Linked DNA regions of Homo sapiens: regions 1 and 3 are each linked to region 2. Evidence: promoter capture Hi-C in 16 types of primary human blood cells and fetal thymus (Javierre and others, 2016). All regions are on one chromosome and are shown on one strand. The core of a region is centred on a gene start or on the middle of the fragment in contact, and the rest is flanking DNA. Distances in the headings are between cores, read along the strand shown. Region 1 overlaps EXOC2 (exocyst complex component 2). Region 2 holds the start of IRF4 (interferon regulatory factor 4). Region 3 has its middle 27 kb from the start of EXOC2.

Evidence for each region. The method cuts DNA at HindIII sites, captures the fragments that hold promoters and counts their contacts. A CHiCAGO score of 5 or more calls a contact.
Region 1: a fragment that was not itself captured here is called in contact with the fragment with the promoter of IRF4 in region 2 in 2 of 17 cell types (activated CD4 T cells and non-activated CD4 T cells); the score reaches 10.7 in activated CD4 T cells.
Region 3: a fragment that was not itself captured here is called in contact with the fragment with the promoter of IRF4 in region 2 in 1 of 17 cell types (activated CD4 T cells); the score reaches 5.4 in activated CD4 T cells.

Annotation. Positions count from the first base shown.
Region 1 is chr6:680,719-683,902 of GRCh38, forward strand. The region is part of intron 1 of EXOC2 (exocyst complex component 2); the gene reads right to left. Among named protein-coding and RNA genes, the nearest start is that of EXOC2, 11 kb to the right of the region's middle. The HindIII fragment of the contact is 1,423 bases long and covers 903-2,325 here.
Region 2 is chr6:389,994-393,123 of GRCh38, forward strand. IRF4 (interferon regulatory factor 4) reads left to right here and starts at 1,759. Exons shown (of 9, transcript NM_002460.4): 1 at 1,759-1,816; 2 at 3,105-3,130. RefSeq lists silencers at 1,446-1,835, 2,076-2,145, 2,426-2,475, 2,646-2,695, 2,806-2,915 and 1 more. The HindIII fragment of the contact is 5,232 bases long and covers 1,143-3,130 here.
Region 3 is chr6:718,979-721,800 of GRCh38, forward strand. No RefSeq gene overlaps it. Among named protein-coding and RNA genes, the nearest start is that of EXOC2, 27 kb to the left of the region's middle. The HindIII fragment of the contact is 3,832 bases long and covers 1-2,822 here.

The sequences.
Region 1 (3,184 bases), core at 364-2,863, 290 kb after region 2:
TAAATTAACTATCTTAAGAAAGTGATTATAACAAATGATAGTATCCTTTACATTAAAGAAAAAGGGATGAAAAAAAGTTACTGTGCCAAGCTCTCTGCCAGCAATCTTCAGTGGGCTTGCCTGGGCTTGTCATCATATTCTTTCTTCACTCTAGTGTCTAGTCCAGTGCCAGACACTCAGTGAAACGGTGGCCGGGCTGACCAGATCTGGGGATGCACGGGCTCTTCTTTCATCTCCTCAACAACAGCAGCAGAGACCTCAAAAGGCTGTGTGAAATTCCTGCCATAAGAAGCTATAAGATGCGGCTTCTGAGAGGGGTGTCAGCTAGATTTGTTTCACAGGACAGATGCCATTCCTTGATTCTGTACTGTGTGCCATGCACTGTCTTTTAAACCAATAAATCTGGTCACAAGAGCAACTGCCAAAACCACTATAAAACCTGAGTGCCCTAATTACATCCTAAAAGGTCACAATCAACCTGTGACAGCTCCTCCTGATCTTCAATACAATTCATGCTAAGGAAAACAATCAGATAAATCCAAATTAACCAAACATCTAAGCAGAACAACTCCTTTTCTATCGGTCACCTCTGGGTGACAAGAGGTCCAGTTCAAATCTGACCTTTAACTGAAAGGTCCAAGAGGTGAAAAGTTTGATATTCTATTACTGCTTCCACACAGAATTACACGAAAACCAGAAATTCTAATTTGTAGGTGCAGATCTTTAATGCTGTGTCTCCTTTCTCCCCCCACCAAAGAAGTATTTTAAATGTTTAAACCAAAATGAGTTTTGCCCCTAATAAATTTTAAAATATTACTAAGATATTTATAATGAAAGTTACCAGAGAAACTTGTTTTTCAACTATCCTTTAGTCCTATAAAAACTAGGCCAAAACTCATTTAAGCTTGATTTTTCCATTTAAAAAATCCAGCCATAAAAGAGAATGGGATAGTACTGAGAATATATAAAACAATTCTAACTTTTCAGTTCTAATGAAAAGTGCAAATAAAGGTAGTAATCTTTTTCTTAAAGATAACCTTGTTTTCACAGAAATGCACTTGGAAATAGGGTTTTTAAAGTGCTGTCAAGGTACTGTGGTTCTACAGATACTTTGCTTCTCTGCCCTTGCAAGAGAATCAACTGCTCTGGAGGATAATTCCCCCTTTAGTTACCAGAGAGCAAAACCCTGGTCCTTTTCCTGCTCACTGCTAACTCCTGGAGGATTTTGCCCAGTAAAAGCTAAGGTAGAAATGGAGGGAATCTGTTCAGTCAGGATTTATTCATTTAGAGTTCTACATCGAATTTTAAACAACCAATTAGCACCGGCATTGGTGAAACTCCAGAAGGGCTGGGAACAGGAACCTGCATGACACAGCACTGCAGAAAAGTGCTGGTGACTAACAGCCAGTCACACATAGGGCACTTCTATCCAACACAAGCCTTGACCATTCCGCAGTTCCTATTAAATATTTCCCAGTTTCTTTTTTTTTTTTTTTTTTGAGACGGAGTCTCGCTCTGTCACCCATGCTGGAGTGCAGTGGCAGGATCTGGGGTCACTGCAAGCTCTGCCTTCCGGGTTCATGCCATTCTCCTGCCTCAGCCTCCCGAATAGCTGGGACTACAGGCAACCACTACCACGCCCGGCTAATTTTTTTGTATTTTTAGTAGAGACAGGGTTTCTCTGTGTTAGCCAGGATGGTCTAGATCTCCTGACCTCGTGATCTGCCCGCCTTGGCCTCTCAAAGTGCTGGGATTACAGGTGTGAGCCACCGCGCCCGGCCCCGAGTTTCTAAAATACAAGTTCATTTCCACACATGATTACTTAACTATAACCATCATTTATCAGTATTTTTTCCTCTCTCTCTCTCTCCAAAGAATTTTCACTTCCTAGGTAAAAGTCATACAGTAATGACTAACAATATTATGCATATATTATGTCATAATTGACATAAAAGGCCACATATATGATTCCACTTATATGAAAGTTCAGAATAAGTAAATCCATGGATGCAGAAAGTGGGAAAGGATTGATAATGGATTCAGGGTTTTCTCCGGGTGTGATGAAACTGTTCTGGACTTAGATAATGGTGATGGTTGTACAACTTTGTGAATAACTGTGCTTCAGAATTCCTCTGAGCATTAGTTTAACATCATTAGCACCATAAACACAGAACCCCAAAAAACTGAACACAAAAAGAAATACAGGATGGTATCATTTTTTAAAAAGTGCCCAACATGACTAAATTCCTGAAGTCTGATTCCAGATCAGTTGAGGCAAAGGTACACCAGGGCGAGGAGTGAAAAGGTACCAGGAGGGTAGGAGAAAGCTTTACCCTCGCAGTGATGGAAACAGAGCTCAGGTACTGAAACCCAGGGTGAAGAGTAGCAAATAAAGCAGCAGAACAACTCCAAGCTAAACAGACTGACCTTGCGGGAAGATGTGAGTGGCCTAGACTTTCTAATCCTTGACAAACATCAACACCACCAACTCCATTCCAGCAAGACTGCCAGGAAGACATGAAAATAAAGAAGCTAAACAATGCAAAATCCCAAGTGATATCAAGAGTCTACATATGTTTATTCAAATAACAAAATACTTGACCATCTCAACAATAATGTTCAGGAATGAGAGAGGAACAAAATCAAGAAAATATTACTAAGCTATTCATAATGAAAGGATTGGATAAAAAGATATTCTCCTAAATTTATACTACTACATAAAAACAAAGTTTCATTTGTCTCGACTTGTCAAATCTTTAGGATGAAATAAACCAATATCACCGCTGACAAATATAATAACTATGGTAAACAGGCATGCCAAAATCAATGCAGAGTTTCAGAAAAGGTCAAGAAACCAACCGTCAGCTTAAATTGGTTAATTTCATTAAAACTGTTAAACATGACAGGATGTCGCTAACTCCCAGGTTCTTTTATATGAGCAAAGTTGGATTAATTTGACCCAAATTTTGTATAATAGCTTTTCCAATTTCCAAAAATACATCAACTTTGTCACTGATCTTACAAATTCTGCTTTCCTTCTCTAGCTCTATCTCAAAAGAAGCTTCTCGAAGGCCATAAATCTTGACATAGTGAAAGCAAAATAATCACAGCACTCAACAGTGCCGTTAACATTTCTGAGCCGTGAGGGATTAAGCAGGCAGATGCTATGGAAAGTGCCTGTCAG
Region 2 (3,130 bases), core at 509-3,008:
TGCAACAAGAAGGCAACGATCTTTGCTTTGTTCACTGATGTGTTCCAAGTGCCTAGGACGGTTCCTGACAAGTAGCAGGTGCTCAAAATACATTTGTCAAGTGAATAAATCTGTGAAAGGAAAGGAAGAAAAACAGGTTGTGACCAGAACTTTTTGTGAACAAAACCCTGTTGTTTATTACATAGACTTTGGTAATGGAAAACTTACTTGGGTGAAATAAAAAATGGCATCCTGTTAATTTCTGAGAACGTCTGTTGGTTTTAGGAAAAGCATACCTATCCATACCTCACTACCTGTTTTGCTCTAGCCTAAACATAGATTCTTCTTTGGTTAGGAGACATTGACCCAATATATAAGATTAAAACAAAAACTGAGAAATAAGTGAAATCAAAAGCTTTTCAAAAGTTGCAGGTTGACCTACGGTGGTGGTGGTCTAAAATCATATAGAAACCAGAGATCTGATGGTTTACCTGAAAATGCGAAGTAAATGCACATACTCAGCATCTCAGACGATCGAAAGCTCAACGGGTGAAAGCTCAGGGGGTTAATTTTGCGATTAAGGACATCTTGGAAAAGTATGTAAAATCCCTGGTCCACTTAAGTATTATTCCTATTTTGGGCTTTTATTTATTTATTTTGAGATGGAGTCTTGCTCTGTCGCCCACCTCGGCTCACTGCAACTTCAGCCTCCCGGGTTCAAGCGATTCTCGTGGCTCGTCCTCTCAAGTAGCTGGGGCCACGCCCGGCTAATTTTTGTATTTTTAGTAGAGATGGGGTTTCACCGTGTTGGCCAGGCTGGTCTCGAACTCCTGACCTCAGGCGATCCACCGCCTCGGCCTCCCAAAGTGCTGGGATTACAGGCTTGAGCCACAGCGCCTGGCCTATTTTGGGCTTTTATACCCCACTGGTAAACTGCTTTCCTCCAGGTTGAGGTTAAAACGACATCATTTTAAGGTGAACTGAAGTCTGGAAGTGATTAAGCACTTGGATCCTTAGGGAGCCTCTCCCCGCCCCCATCTCTTTCATGCTAAGATAATTAAAACTTCGGGGCCGGGGCATTGTCTGAGTCACTTCAATTCACCAGCCTAATAGATGCAAAAGGATGTAAGCATGTCAGACACGCAGAGACAGTATTTGAATCAAGCTTAATAGCTCAAGGGAGCTGGGCCATTTCCTATTTTCTTTTTAGTGAGTGCGATGTTCTCTAAACACCGCGGAGAGGCAGGGTTCCCGGTGATGGCCTTGCCGAGGGTGCTCCCGCAACCTCCACCTCCAGTTCTCTTTGGACCATTCCTCCGTCTTCCGTTACACGCTCTGCAAAGCGAAGTCCCCTTCGCACCAGATTCCCGCTACTACACGCCCCCCATTTCCCGCCCTGGCCACATCGCTGCAGTTTAGTGATTGACTGGCCTCCTGAGGTCCTGGCGCAAAGGCGAGATTCGCATTTCGCACCTCGCCCTTCGCGGGAAACGGCCCCAGTGACAGTCCCCGAAGCGGCGCGCGCCCGGCTGGAGGTGCGCTCTCCGGGCGCGGCGCGCGGAGGGTCGCCAAGGGCGCGGGAACCCCACCCCGGCCGCGGCAGCCCCCAGCCTTCACGCCGGCCCTGAGGCTCGCCCGCCCGGCCGGCCCCGGCTCTCGGCTTGCAAAGTCCCTCTCCCCAGTCCAACCCCCGGCCCCCACAGGCCTCGGCGCCCCGCCCCGCCCCAGGCCCCGCCCCAGAGAGTTCTATAAAGTTCCTCTTTCCCACCTCGCACTCTCAGTTTCACCGCTCGATCTTGGGACCCACCGCTGCCCTCAGCTCCGAGTCCAGGGCGAGGTAAGGGCTGGAGTCGGGCAGGAGGAGGGGTGTGAGGCTGATACCAGAGAGGACCCGGAGCGCGAACCAGAGGTTCGACCTCCAGGGCAGCGCAGGGTACCCCGGCTTCGGAGCGGGAAGGGAGCGCGCCCCGTCCTGGAGCTCCGACTCCCACCCCATCTGCGCTGAGCCGGAGGCGCTGGTTTGGGCTCCAAGGCCCGCCTCCTTGGCTCTGCCCGAGCCTCCCCGCCTGCCCTCCGCGCTCCTGCGACGGGGTCGCCACAAGCTGGACGGGATGAGCTAACCGGACTGTCGGGGCCCCAGGAGTGGCTGAGGCGGGGCCGTCCAAGGCACCCACACAAGACGGCACAACTGCCTGCGAGAAACAGGCCCGGCCCTGTGGACCCCAATCCGAGGCTCCTTCCCCTGCTCTTCGTTCCTAAGGGGCCCAAGCTCACGGCGGCCTCCGGCGCGGTGCTCACCCGCTGGCGCAGGAGGAGGAGGAGCTCCACATTTGGGTCGCTCCGAGCCTTGCGTGCGGTGGCCTAGCCGGCCTGGCGCGGTCCCTGCCTCCCAGGCTCCGCAGCTGTCGTCGCCCTCTCCCGCGCCCTCCCCGCCTCCGCTCTCCCGGGCCTGCTCCGGGGTCCGGCGGACGCTCTGCGCGCGGAATCCCCCGTACTGGGGCTGCAGCCCCCGCGTCTGCGCCACTTGTCGTTTGCAGAGCCCACTTAGTGCGCGCTAGCTGGGCAGGGATAGGGGTCCTATTCGGGGCGAAGGGTCTGGATGCGAGCAGAGAAAGCGGAGGGTGGAGGAACCCGGGGCTGCGCCCCTGGAACGCCCGGCCGCAGGCGAGGTCCTCCGCGCGTGGAGGCCGCCAGGGGAGTGGAAACTGACAGAGTCGCGGGGAAGGGGCGAGAAGCGGGTTGGGAGTGAGCGAAGGCAAGCGAGAGCTGCGAGTGAGTGCGGAAGGAGGGCCAGGAGGGGTGGCGGCTGGGTGGGGAGAGAGGGTGCAAGACGAGCGGCGCGTGTCGGGAGCCTTTGGGCTGCGGGTGCGTTACAGGAGAGCAGGCGGGTAGGAGCCTTCGCGGGGGCCGAGCTCGGAAGGCGGACGGCTGTGCCCGCCCAGGGGATGCGCCCGGGCCGGCCGCGAAGGTGCCTTCTTCCGGGGGCCCGGACGACCCTGACACGGCACGCGCGCGCTTCGCAGCCTCAAAGACTCCGGGGCCTCGTGGTCACTGGCGCAGGGGATCGGGGCGGGGTGCCCGGAGTGCGGTGCCTCGTGGCTGAAGGGCAGCTCTTCTCCCCGCAGTGCAGAGCAGAGCGGGCGGAGGACCC
Region 3 (2,822 bases), core at 280-2,779, 330 kb after region 2:
TTTGTTTTGTTTTTGAGACAGAGTTTTGCTCTTGTTGCCCAGGCTGGAGTGCAGTGGCATGATCTTGGCTCACTGCAACCTCCACCTTCCAGGTTCAAGCGATTGTCCTGTCTCAGCCTCCTGAGTAGCTGGGATTACGGGCACCCACCACTACGCCCGGCTAACTTTTTGTATTTTTAATAGAGAGGGGGTTTCACCATGTTGGCCAGGATGGTCTCGAACTCCTGACCTCAGGTGATCCACCCACCTCGGCCTCCCAAAGTGCTGGGATTACAGGCGTGAGTCACCGCGCCTGGCCCACTAATGCTTCTTAACCTGTCCCTTCCTTTATGGACTTAATTGCGTCTTCCCAACATTCACATGTTGAAGTATGTGACTGTATGTGGAGATGGGACCTATAAGGAGATAACCAAGGTTAAATGAGATTGGAAGGGTAGGGCCTTGATCCAACAGGACTGATGTCCTTATAAGAAGAGAGAGAGGCATGAGGGCCATGGGAGGACACAGCAAGGGGCGCCATCTGCAAGACAAGGAGAGGTCTCAGAAGAAACCAGGCATGCCGATCTTGATCTCGATCACTGACTTGCGGCCTCTGAAACTCAAAAACGTGTTGTTTAAGCCAACCTGTCTCTGGTACTTTGTCACAGCAGCTGGAGCTGACTAATACACTTAACCTCACATACCTATTTGAATGATGTTCTTTAATCTCTTTAATCATGGTATCTCTTTAATCTCTTCCCTCTCCAGCAACCCCACTGTCGGTGCCCTCATTCAGGCACTCACTACCTTCTTCCTGCACCATTAGAAAAGTCTTCATATTGGTTTCATGTCTGCCCTAATCAACCCATTCCCTACACTCTTTCCAAGTCATCTGTCTTAGGACCAGAGCCAGGAATAGGATTAATTGGAGTCAGAGCTTCCCTTTAGGGCACTTCACCTGTTGGAGAACTGGAGAAAATATGAAGAGGATGCTCACTACGGGTGCAGGTTCCTAAGCACCACAGGAGTGTTGAAAGACAGAAACAAGCTGTAAACCCAGAGACACGCTGGGAAGAGGGAGCCCCAGCAGCCACTGCAGTGAGCTGGCCACTTGGCCACGCACAAGAAGTGGAATTTATTCATTCATTGATTTGCTCAATCATGTTGAATGAGCACAAATATATCTCTGACTTTGTTGAGCTTCTATCCTGGTGAGTGGAGACACTTAAACATAGGCATAAGTTAATGAGATGATTTAGGATGAAAAGGGGTGCTATGAAGATTCTGAAAGGGGCAGTGGGATGGTGGGAAGGGGTGCTTCTGGTAGCATGGTCAGATAAGTGGACAGAGGAAGTGACGGGACTCCTGGGATATGAAAGATGAGAGGTAGCTGGCCATGCAGGGGAATAACATCCCATGTAGAGGAAACTGCTCTTGCAAAGTAGATAAGATGGGTGGAGCCTACAGGCAGGGTCAGAGGGATTTCAGGTGTTGTGGACTGAGAAGCGCTAGATATAGCATCTTGTTGGCCATGGGAGGTGTGTTTCATCCTAATTAGACTGGTGGCCTCTGGGGGGTTGTGAACTGGGAGATGATAAGATTTTATCTCTATTTTAAGGTGGTCCTAGCTGCTGAGGGTGGAGGTGTTGCTGCTACACTGGGGTGTCAGCAATAGGAATCGGCAGGGGATGGAAGGCTCAGAGTTTCTTTTGGCAGTTAAGCTGCTGGGATTTGCTATTAGGTGGAATATGTTTGTGAGTGAAAGAGGGGCATTAAGTGTCCAGGAGGACGGTGGTGACATGGACTGAGAGAAGCAGGTTTGGGTGTGCCGATTTAGAGTTACAGTTTAGCTTGGGTAAGTTTCCGATGCAGTCATGCGTTACTTAACGATGGGGACACACTCCGAGAAATTCATCATTTACAGGTTTTGTCATTTTGTGAACATCAAAGAGTGAACTTGCACAAACCTGATACAGCACTAGCTTGTCCAACCTGCTGGCTGCAGGCCACTTGTGGCCCAGGATGGCTTTGAATGCAGCCCAACACAAACTTGTAAACTTTCTTAACACATATTTTTTTTCAATTTTTTTTTTTTTAGCTCACCAGCTATCATTAGTGTTAGTGTATTTTATGTGTGACCCAAGACAATCCTTCTTCCAGTGTGGCCCAGGGAAGCCAAAAGATTGGACACTTCTAGTATAGCCTATTGCTCCTAGGCTACAAACCTGCACAGCATGTGCAGTTGTGACACAATGGTGTTTGTGTATCTTAACATGGAAAGGTAGAGTAAAAATATGGTATCTTATTGTCTTATGGGCCCACCATCATAGATGCAGTCTCTCATTGACCAAAATTTTGTTATGTGTCACATGATGTTAGTACTAGATGTTACAGAAAGGGAGATTGGCAAATGCGTTCACAGATACCACTTAGGAAGTAAGAAAAGGGCCCAGATGGAGCGCTGCATTTGGCCAGAGGAACGTAGTTGGTGCTTTTGATAAGAGCCATTTTAGCTGAGCCATGAAGATGAAAACTGCTTTCACCAGAGCATGTTCGAGAGAGAATGTGAGGCCAGAAGGTGGAAAGTTTTGTGGAGAAGAGTAGAGAAGTGGGGGTAGGGAATCTCCAAGGGATGTGGGGTAAAAGAAGGAGTTATTTATGCTGAACTAGAGCAAGCCTTGCTTGTCTGCTGCCGGGAATGAAGCCTTCCAACTGGTGGTGCAGGAGACAGGGCCCGTCAGAAGGAGCTGGGTTCTCCTGCGGCTGGTGAGGTGAGGCACGGAGCACAAGTGATGGTGCTGAAAAAGCTAAAGTTGGGGAATGGAGGTTTTTTCCATTAGAAG